5 separate regions of the Homo sapiens genome follow, and all the other regions are linked to region 1. The links are contacts of gene promoters, found by promoter capture Hi-C in blood cells and fetal thymus (Javierre and others, 2016). All regions are on one chromosome and are shown on one strand. The core of a region is centred on a gene start or on the middle of the fragment in contact, and the rest is flanking DNA. Distances in the headings are between cores, read along the strand shown. Region 1 holds the start of ZNF44 (zinc finger protein 44). Region 2 has its middle 57 kb from the start of ZNF823. Region 3 has its middle 35 kb from the start of ZNF823. Region 4 has its middle 9.7 kb from the start of ZNF441. Region 5 holds the start of LOC124904639 (a long non-coding RNA gene).

Evidence for each region. The method cuts DNA at HindIII sites, captures the fragments that hold promoters and counts their contacts. A CHiCAGO score of 5 or more calls a contact.
Region 2: a fragment that was not itself captured here is called in contact with the fragment with the promoter of ZNF44 in region 1 in 1 of 17 cell types (erythroblasts); the score reaches 5.3 in erythroblasts.
Region 3: a contact is called between a fragment that was not itself captured here and the fragment with the promoter of ZNF44 in region 1, in 2 of 17 cell types (M2 macrophages and erythroblasts). The highest score is 5.8, in M2 macrophages.
Region 4: a contact is called between a fragment that was not itself captured here and the fragment with the promoter of ZNF44 in region 1, in 1 of 17 cell types (M0 macrophages). The highest score is 5.6, in M0 macrophages.
Region 5: a contact is called between a fragment that was not itself captured here and the fragment with the promoter of ZNF44 in region 1, in 1 of 17 cell types (M2 macrophages). The highest score is 5.6, in M2 macrophages.

The regions. Positions count from the first base shown.
Region 1 is chr19:12,292,669-12,297,243 of GRCh38, reverse strand. ZNF44 (zinc finger protein 44) reads left to right here and starts at 2,361. Exons shown (of 4, transcript NM_016264.4): 1 at 2,361-2,552. The coding sequence starts at 2,550. RefSeq lists an enhancer at 1,977-2,026 and a silencer at 2,577-2,806. The HindIII fragment of the contact is 16,141 bases long and covers 1-4,575 here.
Region 2 is chr19:11,680,098-11,684,672 of GRCh38, reverse strand. It overlaps the pseudogene ZNF833P. Among named protein-coding and RNA genes, the nearest start is that of ZNF823, 57 kb to the left of the region's middle. The HindIII fragment of the contact is 2,051 bases long and covers 906-2,956 here.
Region 3 is chr19:11,701,623-11,706,197 of GRCh38, reverse strand. No RefSeq gene overlaps it. Among named protein-coding and RNA genes, the nearest start is that of ZNF823, 35 kb to the left of the region's middle. The HindIII fragment of the contact is 3,499 bases long and covers 791-4,289 here.
Region 4 is chr19:11,755,002-11,759,576 of GRCh38, reverse strand. No RefSeq gene overlaps it. Among named protein-coding and RNA genes, the nearest start is that of ZNF441, 9.7 kb to the left of the region's middle. The HindIII fragment of the contact is 318 bases long and covers 2,169-2,486 here.
Region 5 is chr19:11,775,826-11,780,400 of GRCh38, reverse strand. It overlaps ZNF441 (zinc finger protein 441), which reads right to left. Exons shown (of 4, transcript NM_152355.3): 2 at 2,664-2,790; 3 at 2,008-2,071; 4 at 1-382. LOC124904639 (a long non-coding RNA gene) reads left to right here and starts at 2,764. Exons shown (of 2, transcript XR_007067141.1): 1 at 2,764-2,907; 2 at 3,076-3,226. The HindIII fragment of the contact is 4,273 bases long and covers 52-4,324 here.

The DNA of each region.
Region 1 (4,575 bases), core at 1,112-3,611:
GGGCATGGTGGTGTGCACCTGTAGTCTCAGCTACTCGGGAGGCTGAGGCAGGAGAATCGCTTGAACCTGGGAGTCGGAGGTTGCAGTGGGCCGAGATCGCGCCACTACACTCAAGCCTGGGCAACAGAGTGAGACTCTATCTCAAAAACAACAACAACAAAAACAAAAACAACAAAATAAAACAAAAAAAAAACAACCATGCTGCCCTATAATTCCAGTTTTTTCACACATTTAACAATTTCATTTCATTGTTGATGTGTTTTTATTTTCTGGGATGAAAATGAATAGATCGCAAAAAAATTATATCAGTGAGAAAATTATGGCAGTGGAAGAGATCTGAGCCAACACCCGTTCTGCCCCGCCCCGCCCCCCGCCCCTGCCAACCCTCTGTCTTCTCTTTCCCTTAATCCTGGGCTCTTAGGCACAGCTAACTTTGGAAGATAGCTTAAATGATAATAAGCCTTCCCCAAAACTCAACTGCCTTTGTAAAACGAATGAATGGCCATCAGGCTGAGGGATGAAAGGAATCGGAATGCTGCTAAAGTGTAGACATAGATTGCCAGCTATTTCTGCAGATAACACCACTATTGTAGATTAGCATTTGTAGACGTATTTTCAGTTTTTGTTTGTTTGTTTGTTTTTTTTTTGCATGTCTGACACCACCTGCACCTGCCAACTCTGCTCCTGTGGCCCCAACCAGAAGTGATTCAGCATAACAGGATAGGTTTTTTTTTTTTTTGTCTTTTTTTTGTTTTTTTTTGAGACGGAGTTTCGCTCTTGTTGCCCAGGCTGGAGTGCAAAGGCACGATCTCGGCTTGGCGCGATCTCAGCTCACCGCAACCTCCACCTCCCGGGTTCAAGTGATTCTCCCGCCTTAGCCTCCCAGGTAGCTGGGATTACAGACATGTGCCACCACGCCCAGCTAATTTTGTATTTTTAGTAGAGACGAGCTTTCTCCATGTTGGTCAGGCTGGTCTCAAACTCCCGACCTCAGGTGATCCGCCCGCCTGGGCCTCCCAAAGTTCTGGGATTACAGGTGTGAGCCACCGGGCCCGGCCTCTTTTTTTCTTTTTTAAATATGTAGCAGTACAAGCCGCAGACAAGAACCCCTCAGACACCGAGTTGTGGAAGGAAAGGGCTTTATTCAGCTGGGCTGGGAGCATCGGCGGACTCACGTCTCCAAAAACCGAGCTCCCCGAGTGAGCAATTCTTGTCCCTTTTAAGGGCTTACAACTAGGAGTCCGCGTGAGAGGGTCGTGATTGATGGAGCAAACAGTGGGTACGTGACTGGGGGCTGCATGCACCGGTAACCAGAACTGAACAGAACAGGACAGGGATTTTCACAGTGCTTTTCCATACAATGTCTGGAATCATAGATAACACAGTTAGGTCAGAGGTTGATTTTTAACTACCCAGCCCAGGGCACAAGCCGGGTTATCTGCCTGTGGATTTCATTTCTGCCTTTTAGTTTTTACTTCTTCTTTGGAGGCAGAAATTGGGCATAAGACAATATGAGGGGTGGTCTCCTCCCTTATAGTATAGAGACGGAGTTTCACTCTATGTCCAGGCTGGTCTTGAACTACTGGCCTCAAGCGATCCTCCCACCTAGGCCTCCCAAAGTATTGGGATTACAGCGGTGAGCCACCACGCACTGCCAAGAGGACAGATTCCATCCCCAGTGATTTCATCCCCACCCCAACCAGTCAGTAGCAAGCCTAGCTACCTCCACCCTTTCTCCCAAACTGCCCTTGAAAAACCCCTACCAGAGGACCTTGGATGAGAATAATTTGAGTAGTAACTCCGTCTCTCACGTATCGTAGCTGGCCTAGTGTTTATTAAACTTTTTTTTTAACTGCAATACCGTGGTCTTTATTTGCGTAGCGCGCAGAAAGAACCCATCCAGCGCTTATAGTGGAAGAAAGGCTTGACCTTGCAGGCGACAGCCTCATCCCAAATTCCTGGTCCCTGGAGGACATCAGCACCACCCCCCCACCCACCCACCCCCTGTCCCCCGCTGCTACAGTGTGGCCTGTGTGGCCTCGGCTGCCCTCCTGCTCTGAGGCCAAGGGATGGCTCCACTGGACAGTGAGTCTGGGATTCCTTGCACACAATTGTTCAGGAGGAAGAAGCAAAAAGGGCCCACTGCGTACAGGTAGGAAATTCCGCTTTAAGGCAAACGTTTCCCGGGACGGGTCGGGTCACAACGCAGGGAGGAAGCCCGCCCTGCCAGGGGCCGGGTCTGGAACCTGTTCATCCGGCTGCACTCAGCACTGTGAGATCGCTTCTTCTGTCACTCAGTGCCCAGGAGGCGGGACCTGGAGGGCTACCCAATCAAAGTCGTGGGCGGGTTCCTGAGAATTGTCAATCAGGCGCGAGGCAGAGAGGAGGGTGTGACGTTCCAGGAGCTAGTGGCCTCTTCACCCTGGTGACCTCTGTTCCGTATTCTGTCACTGAGAGACGCCCTGGGACATCTGTGGTGGCTTTTGTCGCGCTGGGACCTACCCTGACTACGGGAGTTGGGAGGACCCGGGACACCGCACAGCCGGGAAATGGTGAGTGTGCGGGGCCCGGCGTCCTGAGGCAGGGCGAAGGGCTGGTCGGAACCAGTCGGAACCGGCTGTGGCGGGACCCGGGCCTCGCCGCAGCGTCTTTGGGGTCTGGGACCTGAGCGCCCCCTGCGCACCTCGGTCCTCGGTCCGTTTGGCCGCAGGGTGGGGCTGGGCCGGCAGCCGGGACCCCGGGCGTCCTGTCCCGTCCCTGAGCTGCGACTGCGGCCCCGGCCCCGGCGCCCCTCTCTGGGCAGCTCCGCGCCCTCAGCCCCGCTTCTCCCCAGATTGTGCGGCGGAACCAGTACAGGTTCGCAGCCCAAGTCACTGCACCCGGACGCCGAGGGCTGCAGCAGAAACGGTTTAATAGGAGAGGACACCCTAGATCCGCCTCCGTGAGAGGTTTGAGGATGGGGTGTTTAGGGGTCTGGACGGGGGTGGTTGGGATGTGGGGTCGCTGGTTGGTGGAGAAGTGAGGGGTGAATCTTGGGACTGGAGGTGAAGAAACCGCATTCTGCTGCTGAGTGGGCTTCCTTGTGGGGTCTTCAGCCTGCTTGGCGCCAGCCTTTCCGCTGGAATTCAAGATCTGAGAAAGAACTTAGACGACTCTTGAGCAACTCTCAGAGATCTTATCCCCAGGCCAATGGGGAAGCCGGCGGTCAGCGTCTGCTGTGACCTGACTCTCAGGGAGGCGGCTTCCTGTGAAGCAGCGGGGCTGAGGGCACCTGGTTAATATCTAACTGCAATCTCGCCTCCAGCCTGGCTCGCAGTTCCTGTGAGCCCGGTGAGGAGGCTGCACGGTGACGGTGGGAGGGTCACTAGGCACAAACCAGACTCGTGTGTGGGGTTTGTGTGTGGGAGGAGCTGTGGTCTCTGTGCTCTTCAGTCCTTTCTTTCCAAGGGCGACCATTTCTCCTCCGAGGCTTTCAAAGATATTGGCATCAGGGTCTTTGAGACCTGTCCCTTCATCCTAACTCCTCTTGGGGCTAACAGTAAATCTTTTGGTTTCCAGAGCCTTCCATATGCTAACTTCACTCCTCAATTCCCAGTAACGTTATGAACCCTTTGTCAGCAAGACGATATTTCAAATAGACACAGAATTTTGTCGTTTGTTTTCAGATAGCAATGTATGGCTCTTTTTAAACAGATTTATTTTGTTTTCCTTAACATTTCACATGTGAGGAAGAAGAGAATAACCACCTGACACTGCTGTAAAAAAAACCAAACCTTTGTGCCTCTTTTATCTCCCCTAGGCACAGATGCCTTCTCAGTATGTCCTTTACAGGGTGATGTGACCTCAGCCCACCCTGTATCTTTTCCAGGCCCTGTGTTATGGAACTTTCTGGGGCTACCCTAAGATGCTGGAAGCTGCCAATCTCATGGAGGGCCTAGTGGATATCGGCCCTTGGGTCACTCTTCCCAGAGGACAGCCTGAGGTGTTGGAGTGGGGCCTCCCAAAGGATCAGGTGGATGCACTGGGGTGGGAGGAATCTTCTGGTATATCATTCCTGTAAAAAGCTAACCCCTGGGCTGGGCGCGGTGGCTCACGCCTGTAATCCCAGCACTTTGGGAAGCCGAGGCGGGCGGATCACCTGAGGTCAGGGGTTCAAGACCACCCTGGCCAACATGGTGAAACCCCATCTCTACTGAAAATACAAAAATTAGCCGGGCATGGTGGCAGGTGCCTGTAATCCCAGCTACATGGGAGGCTGAGGCAGGAGAATCACTTGAACCTGGGAGGTGGAGGTTGCAGTGAGCCGAAATCACAATCATGCCATTGCACTCCAGCCTGGGCGACAAGAGGGAAACTCTGTCTCAAAAAAAAAAAAAAAAAAAAAAAAACCTAACCTCTGGGACATTGACATTTTTTTCCCCAAGCCTAGTTTCCATTCCTTGGTGACGCATGGCTTATCAGAAAATTGGATGGTGTTATTCAGGGGACAAGACAAATGATTTCTGCCTTCTGGACTCTCTCCGACTGTGAAGCTAGAAAACTGTTTCTAAAAACTGAAAAACCCACCCAATGAGG
Region 2 (4,575 bases), core at 682-3,181, 610 kb after region 1:
CTTAACACTGGCTCCAAGGCAACTATTTTGAAAACACTGGATATTTATGTCTTGTGTAAGTATATTGTTTTTGGAAAATAGTTATTTTTTTTTTTGGAGACAAGGTCTCACTCTGTCACCCAGGCTGAAGTACAGTGGCATGTTCACGATTCATCACAGCCTTGACCTCCTGGGTTCAAGCCATCCTCCCACCTTAACCTCCCTAGTAGCTGGGACCTCAGGTGCATGCCACCATGCCTGGCTAACTTTTAGATTTTTGTACAGATGGAGTTTCACCATGTTGCCCAGGCTGGTCTTGAACTCCTGGGCTCAAGCAATCTGCCTCCCTTGACCTCCCAAAGTGCTGGGATTACAGGTGTGAGCCACCATGCCCAGCCTGGAAAATTTTTTCTAAAAATGAATGAATTTGAAGCTGGGCTGCTTCATTTTCTTTGCTTGCTTTTAACATTTGTTGTCATTCTAACAATATCTTAAGGGACATAGCTCTAGGTTGTAAGTGCAAATGACCTTAGATTTCTTTTGGAATTATTGTACTGATCTTCAATGATCTGGTCTTCACATTTTATTCCTAAAATGCAGACCCATAAAAGTCATCATAAGTTATTACAAAATTATAGAAAAATTATTAGATTCTATGTTCATGGGACACTGTGGCCATGGCTGATTTATTCACCAAAGTTCAGTTGAACCTTGACCAACATGGTTTTGAACTGCACAGTTCACTCATGCACATTTTCATCAGCTCTTGCCATCTCTAAGAGAGCAAGACCAAACCCTCCTTTTTTGCTCAGGTTACTCAATATGAAGACAACCAAGGAAGAACACCTTGATAATCTACTTGCACTTACTAAAGTCAACATATCTTCTCTTCTAATTTTTTTGATAACCTTTTCAAAAGAAAAGCTTACTGTATTATAAGAATACAGTACATAACATACCAAACAGGCTTGGCATGGTGGCTCATGCCTGTAATCCCTGCACTTTGGGATGCTAGGGAGGAGGAATGCTTGAGGCCAGGAGTTCACGACCCTCCACCTTACAAAAAAATTATACAAAAATTAGCTGGGGATGGTGGCACTCGCCTCTAGACCTAGCAAGGGACCCTGTCTTAAACATATATACACATACGCACTTTTTTTTTTTTTGAGACGGAGTCTCTCTCTCTTGCCCAGGCTAGAGTGCAGTGGCGTGGTCTTGGCTCACTGCAACCTCTGCCTCCCAGGTTCAAGTGATTCTCCTCCCTTACCCTCCCAGGTAGCTGGGATTACAGGTGCATGCCACCACACCAAGCTAATTTTTGTATTTTTAGTAGAGATGGGGTTTCACCACGTTGGCCAGGCTGGTCTCAAACTCCTGACATCAAGTGATGCACCTGCCTCAGCCTTCTAAAGTGATGGGATTACAGGCGCAAGTCACCATGCCCAGCCACACACAGAGTGAGACAAGGACTCACTCTGTTGCCCAGGCTAAACTGTAGTGGTGCAATCATGGTTCACTGCAAGCTCAACCTCCCCAGTTCAAGCGAACCTACTGCCTCAACCTTCTGAATAGCTAGGAACACAGGTGTGCCACCATCCATGGCTACTTTTTTTATTTTTTATACAGACAGGGTATCACTTCATTGCTACAGCCAGTCTCAAAATCCTGAGCTCAAGCAATCCTCCCACTTCAGCCTCCCAAAGTACTGGAATTACAGGTGTGAGCCCCCACACCTGGCCATATATATGTATATAGATATATACCAAACATACAAAATGTATTAATTGACTTTCTGTTATCAATACAGCTTTGGTCAACAGCAGTCTATTAGTAGTTAACTCTTTAGGGACTCTAAATTCACAGGCACCTAACAGACTGTGTGGACGATCAGAGTCTCTAACCCCCACCTTGTTCAAGGGTCTGCTGTATTCCCTACCATGTTCCAAATCATTGAGCAATGCAGAAGACCAAGAAACACTTGTTCTATAATTGACTAAGTGAAGAAATGATGTCACCCTTACCTACAGACATCAGGTTCCTGAAGGTTTCCCACATCACATCTCTGTAGAGATTCTTCTGGGAAGGACCCAGCAAAGCCCACTCCTCCTGGGTGAAGTTCACAGCCACATCCTCAAAGGTCACTGAGTCCTGAAACATCCCACATGGCAGAGGAGGAAGGTTCAGACCAACAGCATTAGGAATCTATACTCACTTCAGAAGTTCACACGATGCTGTGGACTCCAAAAATTTATTCAATGACTTGGTCAGCCTCTTGTCTTCTGTCTACACTCACTTTCTCCATCACAGCAATTCTGATGCTAGAATTGAATATATTCAGTAAAGTGACAGCCAACAAGGACATGCCTCTCATTGGTGATTTCAGAGACTGAGATATGCTGCCTGGATCACCTCTAGTGTCTCTCTGTATAGTGGGTCAGTATTACCTCTCATGAGAAAGTCCCAAACATACTGTCTATAAGAGACAAATTAGCAGTTCTGAGACTGCATATTCTTACACGTTTATTTAGAAAGTTGAACTTTGATGGTATCTAGGGGCTAGATTTGGGAAGATCTGCACCAACATAACTAATAAATGGGGTTGTGTGTGCCTTAACTACTTATGCAAACAATATGGTATTTGCCTAATTCCCATTTTCCCTCTGAGAGTGTGGTATTTTCAGCAGAAGCAGTGTACCTAATCAGCCCTTGCTAAGTGTGAATAATTTCCCCTTCCAAAACTCATAACGAAATTTGATCCCCAATGTGTCAGTACTGAAAGCAGGGCCCTTTAAGAGGCATGAGGGCTCTGCCTCATGAATGGATTAATCCACTGACGAATTGAAGAGGTAATGAATGAATGGGTTATCCTACAAATAAGACTTGTGGCCTTGTAAGAAGAGAAAGAGACCAGAGTTAGCACAATCAGCCCCCGTGCCTAGTGATCTCCACTGCCTCAGACAGTAAAGAGCAAGAAGCTTTCACCAGATGTACCCCATTTGCCCTTGGATTTCCAAACTTTGAGAATTGTACAAAATAAGTATTTTTTATATATTAACCCAAATTCAGGGTTTTTTGTTTTTTTTTGTTTTTGGAAACAGTCTTGCTCTGTTGCACAGGCTGGAATGCAGGGGGGGCAATCTTGGCTCACTGCAGCCTCGACCTCCCAGTTCAAGTAATTCCCATGCTTCAGCCTCCCAAGTAGCTGGGATTACAGGCATGCATGACCATGCCCGGCTTTGTTTTTATATTTCAGTAGAGATGGGGTTTCACCATGTTGGCTGAGCTGGTCACAAACTCCTGGTCTCAAATGATCCACCTGCCTCAGCCTCCCAAAGTGTTGGGATTACAGGCACGAGCCACCGCGCCCAGCCAAATTTCAGGTATTCTATTACAACTAACAGAAAACAAGAGCCATGAAAAAATACTCTGGGCACAGAGTCTGTAATGCGTGACCCTGGCAGGTAACATTTCACATGTTAATCACCACCACATGTTATTTGGGTGACATAGCCCATCCTGTGTGATTACAATGAAAGAGAACATCTGTACAAGAGGTCCTGAAGGGAGTGCTAAATATGGAAAGAAAAAACCATTACCAGCCACCACAAAAGCACACTTAAATACATAGACCAGTGACACTATAAAACAACCACACAAACAAGTCTGCATAATAACCAGCTAACAACATGATAGGATCAAATCTACACATATAAATACTAACCTTGAATGTAAGCAGGCTAAATGCCCCAATTAAAAGGCACAGTGGTGACTTGGATAAAAAAGCAAGATCCAATGGTATGCTGTCTTCAAGAGACCCATCTCACATGCAATGGCACCCTTAGGCTCAAAGTAAAGGGATGGAGAAAAATCTACTCCACAAACAAAACAGAAAAAAGCAAAAGGACATGGTTTGGATTTGAATCTCCACCCAAATCTCATGTCGAATTGTAATTCCCAATATTGAAGGTGGGGCCTTGTGGGAGGTGACTGGATGGTGGTCCTTCATGAATGGTTTAGCACTATCCCTGTGGTGCTGTTCTTGAGATGGTAAGTTCTTGTGAGAACCGGTCATTTAAAAGTCTGTGGCACCTTGCCCTGCTCTCTCTTGCTCCTTCTCTGGCCGTGTGAACTGCTGCTCCCCCTTTGCCTTCCACCATGATTGTCAGTTTCCTGAGGCCTCCCTAGAAGCTGAGCAGATGCCATCCTTCCAGTACCATGCTTCCTGTGCAGTCTGCAGAATCATGGGCCAATTCAACCTCTTTTCTTTATAAATTACCCAGTCTCAGGTATTTCTTTATCATGCTGCAAGAATGGAATAATACAAGAAAATTGGTACTGAGAAGTGGCGCATTGCTATCAAGATATCTGAAAATGTGGAATTGGTTTTGGAACTTCTTAACAGGCAGAGGTTTGGAAGAGTGTGGAGGGCTCAGAAGACAACAGGAAGATGAGGGAGTTTGAGACTTTGTAGAGGCTTGCTGAATGGTTGTGACCAAAATGCTGATAGTGATATAAAGTTCAGGCTGAGGAGGTCTCAGATGGAAAGGACAATACTTATAAGTATTTATTGGGAACTGAAGCACAGGTCACTTTTGT
Region 3 (4,575 bases), core at 1,291-3,790, 590 kb after region 1:
AATGGCGTGAACCCGGGAGGCGGAGCTTGTAGTGAGCCGAGATCGCGCCACTGCACTCCAGCCTGGGCGACAGAGCGAGACTCTGTCTCAAAAAAAATAAAAATAAAAATAAATAAATAAATAAATAAAAATAAAAAAGTAAATTATTTGGGCATGGTGGCACATGTCTGTGATCTCAGCTACTTTGGAGGCTGAAGTTGGAGGATCACTTGAGCCTGGAAGGTTGAGGCTGCACTGAGCTGTGATCATGCCACTGCCCTGCAGCCTGGGTGACAGAGCAAGACCCCACCTCAAAAAAAAAAAAAAAAAAAAGGCAGGCTTATAAATTGGGGGGAGAAAGGATAAAGGGGTACATGTCTGTCTTTCTATTTAACAGTATTTAAGCCCTATCATTCCTGAAAGACATAGGATAAGTCTCCTTAATATGGACTGAACAGTGAACAGTAGCCACTTTGGGAGGGAGATGAATAGCCTGTAATAGTGCATGTATTACATGTCCATTGGTAATAGATGATAGGTAATAAGTAACCAGAACAAGTTGTAAATCCTCCAGGTTTTGAGACTGTGTCCACTGCATGAAAGACTCCCAAAGCGTATCTGGTATCCGTGTAAATTGTAGCCGTTTTCTTTTTCTTTTTTCTTTTTGAGGTGGAATCTGGCTGTGTGGTTCAAACTGGCCTCAAACTCCTGGCCTCAAGAATCCCCTTGCCTCAGCCTCCTGAGTAGCTGAGATTGTGGGTGTGGAAGCTTACTCTCTGTGTCAGTTTTCTTGTTTGCCAATGTGCAAGCTTTCCTAAGAGCTATGAGTTCAGTCCTTGGGCTGATTTTACAGTGAGTGAAGACAGTGCCCCGAGCGTTTCATGTGGAGCAACCATGGCATGACCCATTATTATGTTCTTCAGAAAATTTCTTTTACAGGATGTATCCTAAAATAGAAGTACATCTAGGTTGTCTAAGGGATGCTCTTGCGGCTTTAGAACCATTTCTATGCCTGCATGACTATCATGTGGGACGGAATGGGATGCTTCAGCATCAGGGTGGGTAGTAAAGTAACCAGACTTACTGGCAAATTGTCAGCTATATAGACCAGCAGGGCAGAATTGAGAGTCCCTTAGCTATGGTTTAAATATTTGTGTACTCTCTAAAATTTATAAGTCAGAACTTAATTCCCACTGCAACACTATTGGGAGGAGGGGCCTTTTGGTGATTAGATCATGAGGACTCTGCCCTCGTGAATAGATTAATGGCATTATACAGGGTTTGATGAATGCAATTTGCCCTCTCTTGCCCTCCTGTCTTCCACCCTGTGAGAATGCAGCAATGCTGAAGCCAGATGCCAGTGTCTTCTTGGATTTCTAAGCCTTCTGAACTGTGAGAAAGTCAATTTCTATTCTTTATAAATTACCCAGTCTGTGGTATTCCACGATAGCAGCACAAATGGACTAAGACACTCTTTGTTTATGGCTCATTGATTTTCAACAAATGGGCCAAGATGCTTTCATAGGGAATGGGTTTTCAACAATGTGCTGGGAAAATGGGATATTGACCTGCAGAAAGATGAACTGAGAACCTTTCTCACATTATACACTAAAATTAACTCACATTGCCAGGCGCTGCGGCTCACGCCTGTAATCCCAGCACTTGGGGAAGCCGAAGTGAGCAGATCCCTTGAGGCCAGGAGTTCCAGACCAGCCTGGCCAACACAGTGAAACCCTGTCTCTACTAAAAATAGAAATAAATTAGCCGGGTGTGGTGACGCATGCCTGTAATCCCAGCTACTTGGGAGGCTGAGGCAGGAGAATTGCATGCCTGTAATCCCAGCTACTTTGGAGGTATGAGAATCACTTGAACCTAGGAGGCAGAGGTTGCAGTGAGCCGAGATCGTACCACTGCACTCCAGCCTGGACGACAGAGCAACACTGTGTCTCAAAATGAATAAATAGATAAAGTAATTCCTGATAAGAAAGGACTTGGTTTTGTCATTTTCCTATTTGTTTTCAATATGCCTTGTAGCTTTTTTCTTCTCATTTCATGCATTTCTGCATTATTTTGCTTTTAATTGCTTTTTGTAGTGAAACATTTAAATTTCTTTATTGTTTCCTTTTGTGTATACACTACTGCTCTGTTAATTACCATGGGGATTGCGTTTACCATCCTAAGGCCATAACATTCTAAATTTATGCCAATTTAACATAAATAGCATGCAAATACAATGCTCCATGGCATGCCTGTTCACACCCCTTTCAGTTTGGTGTCATAAATTTACATCTTTATACTTTATGTATTCAAAAACGCAAACATATTTTCGGTGCATTCGTTTCTTTCTTTCTTTTTTTTTTTTTTTGAGACGGAGTCTCTCTCTGTCTCCAGGCTGCAGTGCAGTGGTGCAATCTCGGCTCACTGCAACCTCCGCCTCCTGGGTTCAAGTGATTCTACTGCCTCAGCCTCCCAAGTAACTGAGATTACAGGCGTGCGCCACCACGCCCAACTAATTTTTGTATTTCTTTTTTTAGTAGAGATGGGATTTCTCCATGTTGGTAAGGATGGACTCAATCTCTTGACCTCGTGATCTGCCTGCCTCAGCCTCCCAAAGTGTTGGGATTGCAGGCGTGAGCCACCACGCCCAACCTAGTTTCTTTTTTATTAGTCTCTTAAACTGTGTAAAAAAACAAAATATAGAGTTCAAAAGCCAAGTCTAAAATGCTAGCTTTTAGACTAATAATTTTTAATGGATTTGTATCTTCAATTATGTAAAGACAAAAACTGGAGTTCACAATTATTGTACAATAATATTAGCATTTATAATTGTCCATGCATTTGTTTCTACTGAGATCTTTATTTGGGCTTACGCCTTCCAGATATTGTCCAGTGTTCTATTTCAACCTGTAGAAGGCTTTTGCGTTTCTCACAGGGTACATCTAATGGCAAAAACAAAAAGAACAAAACTACCTCAGTTTTTGTTCATGTGAGCATGCCTTAATTTCCTCCTCACTTTTGAAAGACAATGTTGCCAGATATTGGATTCTTGGCTGTCTTTGTTTCTGAGATGGAGTCTTGCCATGTTACCTAGGCTGGCCTTGAACTCTTGGGCCTTAACTGATCCTCCCACTTCAGACTCCGGAATAGCTGGGACTGCAGGGATGTGCCACCGTGGCCATTTTTTTTTAAGTACCTTGAATACATCAGCCCACTACCTCTGGCCTTCAGCGCTTCTGATGAGAAATCTGCTGATGATCTTATGAAAGATCATTTATATGTGATGATTCACTTCTTTCTTGCTGCCTTCAAGGTTCTCCCTTTATGTTTGGCTTTGACAATTTGAGTATAATATGTCTTCATGTCCTTCTCTTTGCATTCATCCTACCTGGAGTTCATTGAGCTTCTTGGATGACAGCATTCATTCATGGCTTTTATCTAATTTGGAATATTTGCAGCTATTATTTCTCCAAATAGTCTCCCCTGACCTTTCTCTGTCTCTTCTCCTTCTGAAACTCCCACAGTGCATATATTGGCCTGCCTGATGCTGTCTCACACGTCTCACCTGACTGCCACACCTATGTCTAGCTTATTACCAGGTCAGGGCTCTGTAGAGAGTGGGTATCTGGCTATCTTGGTAGAGATTAACTTGGCAGAGGTAGAACCATAAGGGCATCTGCCAGTATAATCAAGTTTCCTGTGAAGGACATTTGGTTATGGGTTAACACTTAAATATTAGACCCCATGAAAGTCACACTGTAAATATCCACAACCAAGTGTCCTGGAGCCCCGTCAATGCAGCACTAAAGTTCTTTTTGTTTGTTTTTGTTTTTGCTTTTTTTGAGACAGAGTCTCACTCAGTGGCCCAGGCTGGTGTGCAGTGGTGCAATCTCGGCTCACTGCAAGCTCTGCCTCCCGGGTTCACGCCATTCTCCTGCCTCAGCTTCCTGAGTAGCTGGGACTACAGGCGCCCGCCACCATGCCTGGCTAATTTTTTGTATTTTTTTTAGTAGAGACTGGGTTTCACCAGGTTAGCCAGGATGGTCTTGATCTCCTGACCTTGTGATCCGCCCGCCTCGGCCTCCCAAAGTGCTGGGATTACAGGCATGAGCTACCCCGCCTGGCCAGCACTAAAGTTTATAGCCACGCTTCTGAGAGAGATCCCGAGGCCAAATTAGAGGAAAACACTCCATGTGCAGCTGCCTGCAACAGGGGTAAGGGTGGGGATGATAGCTTGTATTGTGCTAAGTGATAAAATGACCACAATTAGCCATAGTTTACTGTCTAATCCTTTTTATGGAAGTTGCAAAGCTTCAATAGCCTCCACAGTTATAACATTGCTACATCAGATGATTCTGTCAGTCCAGTGGTTGTCTAGGTGGGGAGACAGCTTTTTTTTTTTTTTTAAGACAGAGTTTCGCTCTTGTTGCCCAGGCTGGAGTGCAATGGTGCGATCTCGGCTCACCGCAACCTCTGCCTCCCGGGTTCAAGCGATTCTCCTGCCTCAGCCTCCCAAGTAGCTGGGATTACAGGCATGCACCACCGCACCCGGCTAATTTTGTATTTTTAGTAGAGATGAGGTTTCTCCACATTGGTCAG
Region 4 (4,575 bases), core at 1,078-3,577, 540 kb after region 1:
TACATTCAATTAACACATATTTTATATGTCATATGCATTACATATTGTTTTCTCACAATAAACTAAGGCAGAGAAAAATGTTAATCAGAAAATCACAAGGAGAAAAAACTATATTTACTATTTCATTAAGTAGAAGTGGAGCATCATAAATGTTATCATCCTTATTGTCTTCACATTGAGTAGGCTGAATAAGAGGAGGGGTTGGTCTTGCTGTCTCAGTAGTAGCAGAAACTGAAGAAAATTTGTATGTAAGGAGATCTATGCAGTTCAAACCTGTGTTGTTGAAGAGTCAACTGTGGTTTGGTGAATAAATCATCCATAACTGCAGTCTACATAAAATCTTACATTTTTAATATAATTTTATTTTTATTTATTATTATTTTTTTTTTGAGATGGAGTCTTGCTCTGTCACCCAGGCTGGAGTGTAGTGGCACGATCTTGGCTCACTGCAGCTTCTGCCTCCTGGGTTCAACTGATTCTCCTGCCTCAGCCTCCCGAGTAGCTGGGACTACAGGCGCACGCCGCCATGCCCGGCTAATATTTTTTTGTATTTTTTAGTAGAGACGGGGTTTCACTGTGTTGCCCAAGCTTGTCTCGAACTCCTGAGCTCAGACGATCCACCCACCTCGGCCTCCCAAAGTGCTAGGATTACATGCGTGAACCACCGCCCCCGGCCTCAATGTAATTTTATAATAATATATAGTGATTCTTCTGGGTCTACATTTTAGGAATGAAATGGGAAGACCAAAACATTAAAGATTAGTACAAAATTCCCAGAAGAAATCTAAGGTAATTTGCCCTAGGAAGAGAAAGATATGTCTTTGGAATAATTCTTAAAGTGACAGGAAATTTTTCACACCTATAATTCCAGCACTTTGAAAGGGTGGGGGGGTGGGGCGCAGTTCAGGAGGTCGGGAATTCGAGACCAGTCTGGCCAACATAGTGAAACCCTGTCTCTACTAAAGATACAAAAAATTAGCCAGGCGTGGTGGTGTGAACCTGTAGTCCCAGCTACTTAGGAGGCTGAGGCAGGAGAATCGCATGTACCCGGGAGGAGGACGTTGCAGTCAGTCGAGATCATGCCATTGCACTCCAGCTCAGGCGAAAGTGCAAGACTCCGTCTAAAAAAAAAGACAGGAAAATTTTAAAACAAGCAAAATAAATAAATAAATAAATAAATAAAAAAGAATAATCCTGGCTTAAATTTATTCACTCTTAGAAAATTTTCTTCAAAAACATACTTAAATGGGACATAGCTGTTAAGTGTGTCTGCAAAATAATTTCCTTGGAAAACAGTACTAAGAATTCCCACGTGAATATTACTGTTCCGATGATAGCCACAGTTGAGTTATCTTGCACAGCATTCAGTCCGTTCATGTTCAAACAGGGCATGACACCTAAGCTTTGCATGATAATGTCAACAATGTAAATTTAAGACCTATTAATATATATAAAAAACACTTATAAACAAACCTGTAGTAATTGTACTTCTCTGTTTTTACAGATATCATATGGTAGACTGATTCTGTAAAAGTAAAGGAGGTAGATAATTTGGAGAAACTTTCAGCCACATTCCAGGTGGTATTGTGAACAACAAAAATCTCCCTTGAGGCCGGGCTCGGTGGCTCACGCCTGTAATCCCAGCACTTTGAGAGGCTGAGGCAGGCAGATTACCTGAGATTGGGAGTTCGAGACCAGCCTGACCAACATGGAGAAACCCCGTCTCTACTAAAAATACAAAATTAGCCGGGCGTGGTGGCACAATGCCTGTAATCCCAGCTACTCGGGAGGCTGAGGCAGGAGAATCCCTTGAACCTGGGAAGCAGAGGTTGCAGTGAGCCAAGATCAGCCATTGCACTCCAGCCTGGGCAACAAGAATGAAACTCCGTCTCAAAAAAAAAAAAAAGTCTCCCTTGAGCAAAACCACGTGAAAGCAGTGTGTGTGGAGAAGTCAGCATGGGTCGTTCATCTTAATTGCTACCATAGAGCTCATGCTCAACACAAGCCACATGAGTATCAGGAATATGGAGAGAAGCCACATACACATAAACAATGTGAGAAAGCCTCCAGTTATTGCCACTTCCTTTGAATACATTAAAGGCCTTACCCTGGAAAGAAACTTAGTGACTGTAAGGAATGTGAGAAAGTACTTAATCGTCTCAGAAGCTTTCAAACACACATGAGAATGCACAGTGGAGATAGGCCTCATAAATGTAAGATATGTGGGAAAGGCTTCAATTCTCACAGACCATTTCAAAGACATGAAAGAACTTACACTGGAGAGAAACCTTATAAATGCAAACAATGTGGGAAAGCCTTCAGTGGTTTCTGTTACACTCAAATACTTGAAAAGGCTCAAACTGGAAAACAACCCTATGAAGGTAAGCAATGTGTAAAAGCATTTTATCATCTCAGAGGCTTTCAAATATACACAAGAACATACACTGGAAGTAGAAATCATAAATGTAAGATATGTGGGAAAAGCTTTCATTATCTCAGTTTAGTTCAAAGACATGAAAGAACTCACACTGAAGAGAAACCCTATAAATGTAAGCAATGTGGGAAAGCCTTCTTTCATGCACAAGCTTTCAAAGACACATGAAAACGCACACCGGAGATGGATCTCAGACATGCAAGGTATGTGAGAAAGCCCTTGATTCTTCCAGTTTTCTACAAAGACATAAAAGGACACACACTGGGGAGAAACACTGTAAATGTAAATGTGGGAAAGCCTTTAGCGATGTCTGTTCTTTTTGAAATCATTACAGGACTCACACTGGAAAGAAACTCCATGAACGTAAGGAGTGTAAGAAAGCATTTTGTTTTTGTCCTTTTCCCTCCTAAGGCATGAAAGAACTCACTGGAAACAAAACCATGATTGTACGCAATTTGGTAAAGCCTTCAGTTTTTCCAGTTCCCTTTGTATACATGAAAAAATTCACACTGGAGAGAAGCTGTATGAATGTAAGGGATGTGAAAAAGCATTCAGTTCTCCCACTTACTTTAATGGACATAAAAGGACTCACTAAAGAGAAACCCTCTAAATGTATGGAATGTGGGAGAAGCATTCGCTAATCTTATTTTATTTAAGATATGAGGAAGAATTCACATTGGAGATAAGCCCTATGAATATAAAGATGTTATAAAGACTTAAGTAGTTTCCATTTATTTTGAATATAGTTATCTCTTGATATATTCAAGAGATTGGTTCTATCACCTCCCAAGGATACCTGAATCCACAGATGCTAAAGTCCCTTTTTAAAAATGACATAGTTGCATGTAACCTATGCACATCCTCCTGCACACTGTAAATCATTTTTAGATTATTTATAATACTTCATGCATTGTAAATACTATGTAAATAGTTATTATATTGCTTAGGGAATTATTGAGAAAAAGTCTATACTTATTCAGTACAGGGCAACCATCACAGGCCTCCCTAAATAGTACATGTCAGCCAGAAAGTTACAATTTCCTTCAATACACACAGATTCCTTTTGAGAATTGACCTGAAAGAGTATGTTAATATTCAGCAAAATCCTAGTTTGTCTCTCTTGATTACCCAGGTATAGTGATAGTGATGATGATCACTGTATGGTGCCTAACACTGTGATTTGTTGAGGTGGCTAGACATGTGGTATTGTAGATACGTAGTGAGAGATCAGGTTAAATGGAATCTTCTGACAGAACATCCGAACAATCATCTATGTTATAAGAACAAGGTTCTGATTGCAGATGTTGACTCTTTGGAGGAGGCTAAATAATACAGTCAGGATCTGTTTGGCTTGAGGGCTGAAGATCTATAAGTACTGAGGGTTCAGTCTTCATATATGCAAATGCTTAGTTAGAAATGTTGTTATAAGAATCTTATTCCTTTATTTCTTTGAATCATCTACTGTGTTTGTAGGCATGTTGTAATTACTCAGGTGAGGTGGAGACTTTGCTCCACTGAGGGATCTTACTTGAGGATAATAATCTTTAACACCTCTGCCTGTTGAAAAACTGCTGCAATGCGTTCAGGTCCCAATCAATGGCTCTGCATCTTTTAAATCTTCTACATCATCATAATGTCATTATTGTTGTCATTGTAGAGGATTTCAGAAGATCTTTTGAGTTCCTTGTTAGTAAAGATTTGTCTTTGCTTTTGTGTAAGTTTTTCAGTCATCCTTGATCATGTCAGAGAGCCTTTCCCACCAATCTCTTTTCCAGAATATTGAGTCAAAGAGGATTCTTCTTCTTTTTTTTTTTTTTTTTTTTTTTTTTTTGAGACGGAGTCTCGCTGTCTCCCAGGCTGGAGTGCAGTGGTGCGATCTCGGCTCACTGCAAGCTCCGCCTCCCGGGTTCACGCCATTCTCCTGCCTCAGCCTCCCGAGTAGCTGGGACTACAGGCACCCACCGCCACGCCAGGCTAATTTTTTGTATTTTTAGTGGAGATGGGGTTTCACCGTGTTAGCCAGCATGGTCTCGATCTCCTGACCTCAAGATCCGCCCGCCTCCGCCTCCCAAAGTGCTGGGATTACAGGCGTGAGCCACCATGCCTGGCCCAAAGAGGATTATTCTTATATGAAGGTTACC
Region 5 (4,575 bases), core at 939-3,438, 520 kb after region 1:
TCCATGGTGTGCTGCCATGTGTCTTTGAAGGTTTTCAAGAGAACTGAAGCTTGCACATTCCTTACAATCATAGAGTTTCTTTCCATGCTGAGGTCTTTCATGTATTTGAAAGCAGGGCTGATAACTGAAAGCTGTCCCACATTGTGTATGTGTATATGGCTTCTCTCCATATTCTTGATACTCACATGGTTTGTGTTCACTGTCAACTCTAACGTAGCAATTAAGAGATGAACGACCCATGAGGACGTCTGTACACTCACTGCTTTCCCATGGATCTACTCCAGGTATTTTCTCGTTCACAATACTGTCTTGAGTCTGGGTAAAGGGTCCTCCACATTGACTATTATCTTTAATTTCACAGGCTCTCTCTACCATATGACATCTGTAAAAAATAAGAAGTACATTAGTAAAGGTTTGTTTATAAATGATTTTGTATTAATAAGTATTGGATTTACATTTCTTTTCTTTCTTTCTTTTCTTTTTTTTTTCTGAGACAGGTTCTCGCTCTGTTGCCCAGGCTGGAGTGTAGTGGTGTGATCTCAGCTCACTGCAACCTCCACCTCCCGGACTCAAACCATCCTCCCACCCCAGCCTCTCAAATAGCTGGGTCTACAGGCATAAGCCACCACACATGGCTGATTTTTTTTTTTTTTTGAGACGGAGTCTCGCTCTGTTGCCCAGGCTGGAGTGCAGTGGCGCAATCTCGGCTCACTGCAAGCTCTACCTCCCCCGGGTTCACACCATTCTCCTGCCTCAGCCTCCCAAGTAGCTGGGACCACAGGCGCCTGCCACCACACCTGGCTAATTTTTTGTATTTTTAGTAGAGACGGGGTTTCACCATGTTAGCCAGGATGGTCTCGATCTCCTGACCTCGTGATCTGCCCACCTCAGCCTCCCAAAATGCTGAGATTAGATTTTTGTATTTTTTATAGAGACGAGGTTTCACCATGTTGCCCAGGCTAGTCTTGAACTCCTGAGCTCAAGCAATCTGCCCACCTTGACCTCTTGTAGTGCTGGGATTACAAGGGTGAGCCACCATACCCAGCCTTTCTTTTTCTTTTTCTTTTTTTTTTTTTTTTTTTGAAACTGGGTTTTGCTCTGTTGCCCAGGCTGGAGTATAGTAATGTGAACAGGGCTTACTGCGGCTTTGACCTCCTGGGCTCAAGCAACCTTCCTGTCTCAGCCTCCCAAGTAACTGAAACCACAAGCACAGGCCACCATGCCTAGCTAATTTTTGTATTTTTTGTAGAAAGGGCGTCTTGCCACGTTGCCCAGGCTGATTGAACACCTGGGCTCAAGCAGTCTTCCTGCCTCAGCTTCCCAAATAGTTGGGATTACAGGTGTGAGCTATCGCACCTGGCCTGGATTTACATTTCTAACATTATCATGCAAAGTGTAGGTCTCATGCCCTCTTTGAACATGAATGGACAGAATGATGTACAAGGTAACTCAACCCCAGCTGTTTTGAAGATAGTGACATTCATATGGGAATTCTTAATACTGTTTCCAAGGGAACTATTTTGCAGGCACTGAATAGCCATAGCCATGTCACATTTAAGTATATGTTTTTGAAGAAAATTTTCTAAGAATAAATAAATTTAAGGTGGGCTTGTTAATTTTCCTTGCTTCTTTTTAAAATTTTGGGCTGGTCACAGTGGCTCATGCCTGCAATACCTGCCTTTTGAGAGGCCAAGGCAGGAGGAACGCTTAAGGACAGGAGCTGGAGATGAGTCTGGTCAAACACAGCAAGACTCTATCTCTACAAAAACTAAATATGTAGCCACATGTGGTGGTGCATGCCTGTAACCCTAGCTACTCAGGAGGTTGAAATGGGAGGACCATTGAGCACAGGAGTCCGAGGCTACAGCGAGCTATGATCATACCACTGTACTCCAGCCTGAGCAACAAAGTGAGACACTGTCTCTAAAACAAACAAAATAAAATAAAATTTCTGGCATACTATGAATCACTTCAAGGACACAGCTTTCTCTTGTGAGTGCAAATTACCTTAGATTTCTTCTGAGATCTTTGTACTGATCTTCTTCTATATCATGATTTTGCCATATCATTCCTAAAAGTTAGAACCAGAAAAATGACTATAAATTATTATAAAATTATAGAAAGACTGTAAGATTTTATGTACACTACAATCATGCATGATTCACACACCAAACTACAGCTGAGTCTTCAACACAGGTTTGAACTGCACAGGTCTACTTACATATGAATTTCTTCAGTCTCTGCTACTCTTGAGACAGCAAGACCAACCCCTCCTCTTATTCAGTCTACTCAATGTAAAGACAATCAGAATGAAAACTTTGTAATGTTGTATTTTCTATGAATACTAAATAATGTTCCACTTACCTATGGTTTCCTAATGAATATTTTCCTTTTCTAGCTTACTTTCCTGTGAGAATATATAGCATGTAATACATATGACATATAATACATGTATTAATCAACTGTTTATGTTACCAGTAATGCTGCCAGTAAACAGTAGGCTACTAGTGGTTAAGTTGTGCGGGAGAAGATGTATGACTGCTTGGGTGGCTGGTTCAAGGGCCAATTATATACCCTTCCATATTTCAAATAATTGAACAGCATTGATGACCAAGAAACAAATGTCTCTAATTGACTAAGTGAAGACATGATGACATCCTTACCTATACAGTCCAGGTTTCTGATGGTTTCCTGCATCACATCTCTGTAGAGACTCTTCTGTGATGGACCCAGCAAAGCCCACTCCTCACAGGTGAAGTTTATAGCCACATCCTCAAATGCCACTGAGTCCTGAAATATTTCACATGTGCAGAGGAGGAATATTAAAACTGAAGGCACTGGGAATGTAAATTCACTTCATAACCTTCACATGATGCTGTGGTTTCCAAGCATTTATTCAAGAACATGGTAAACCCACTCTTATTCTCTCTTTACACTCATTTTATCCCACACAATTCTGATCCTAGAAATGAACATGTTTTGTAAAGTAACAGTTGAATAGGAACACGCCTCTTGTTGGTAAGTTAAGAAAGTGAGTCTTATTGCCTGAATCACTCCTCATTTCTATTTCTACAGTGGGTCTGCAGTTCTTGTCATGACAAAGTCCTACTACCTATTGTGCAAAAGAGAGTTACCAGCAAGAAGGCTCTCACCAGATGCCCAGCCTTGATGCTGGGCTTCCCACCCTCCAGAAGTGTAAAAAATAAATATCATTTCTTATAAATTACCCAGGTTAAAGTATTCTGTTATAAGCAACAAAAAACAGACTAAGCCATGAAAAAAACACTCTGAGGCCAGGCACAGTGGCACACACCTGTAATCCCAGCACTTTGGAAGGCCGCGGCAGGCAGATCACCTGAGGTCAGGAGTTCGAGACCAGCCTGACCAACAGGGAGAAACACTGTCTCTACTAAAAATACAAAAAATTAGCCCGGTATGGTGGTTCATGCTTGTAATCCCAGCTACTCAGGAGGCTGCGGCAGGAGAATTGCTTGAACCCGGGAGGCGAAGGTTGCGGTGAGCCGAGATTGCGCCATTGCACTCCAGCCTGGGCAACAAGAGAGAAACTCCGCCTCAAAAAAAAAAAAAGGGAAAAAACACTCTGGTCACTGTGTCTGTAATGAGTGACCCTTGTGCCTTGGGGGATTTAGCCTGTGCTATGTGACTACACTAAGAGAGAACATTTGGAAGCTAGCAACTGGTTTACTGTAGAACATATGTAGTTAAGTATGACAAAAGACTAATAAGGATATTTTACCATCCCAATGGAAAAATTAAACTTTATTAAGTAATGTCAAAGAAGAAAAGAAGGGCCAAGATTGCATATGTTCTTAGAAAAAAACTCAATGTCATCTCTCATGAATATCTATAATATTTCCCTAAATCCCTAAACAGACCTTTTTGTCATCATTAAAAATTACATGACCAAATCTAATAGAAGTCACAAACATCTAAAAATGCTAAAATCCTTCTAACCAAGAAAGCAACAGCTTTCCAAAAACAGATAAAGTATGGTGAATATATTATATTCAGTACCCTGTACTATTAACACAGAGATAAACAAATAGAATAAGGAAGGTGACAAATAGTAGGAAAGTTTTGTGGAGTTTTTATTTGTCCTTGTCCCAATCCCTCCTCACATCAGCACCAGTCTTGAAAACAGCAGACCAAATTTCCAATGTGGATCCCTAGAGAGAGCAGATCAGATCTTATTTGTAAGTTATTGCACCTTTGTATTTTTCAATCCATCTGTGGACTATCCAAAGGTCTGAAAGAAAGTTCTCTTTTTTATTTAATCAATGATGGAGCCTAATTAGGTCAAGCTTGGCAGGAACTGCTTCAAATTGTTGCAAAATACATAAAAAACCTTCAAACAACTGGGACAACAAATTATGATTAAGACATATGGTAGAACATCTAAGTCCTGGGAATAAAAAAGGAGAGAACAATTTCCCTCAGAAATTAGGGCATTCAGGCTGAGCGTGGTGGCTCACGTTTGTAATCCCAGCACTTTGGGAGGCTGAGGCAGGTGGATCACCTGAGGTCTGGAGTTTGAGACCAGCCTGGTCAACATGT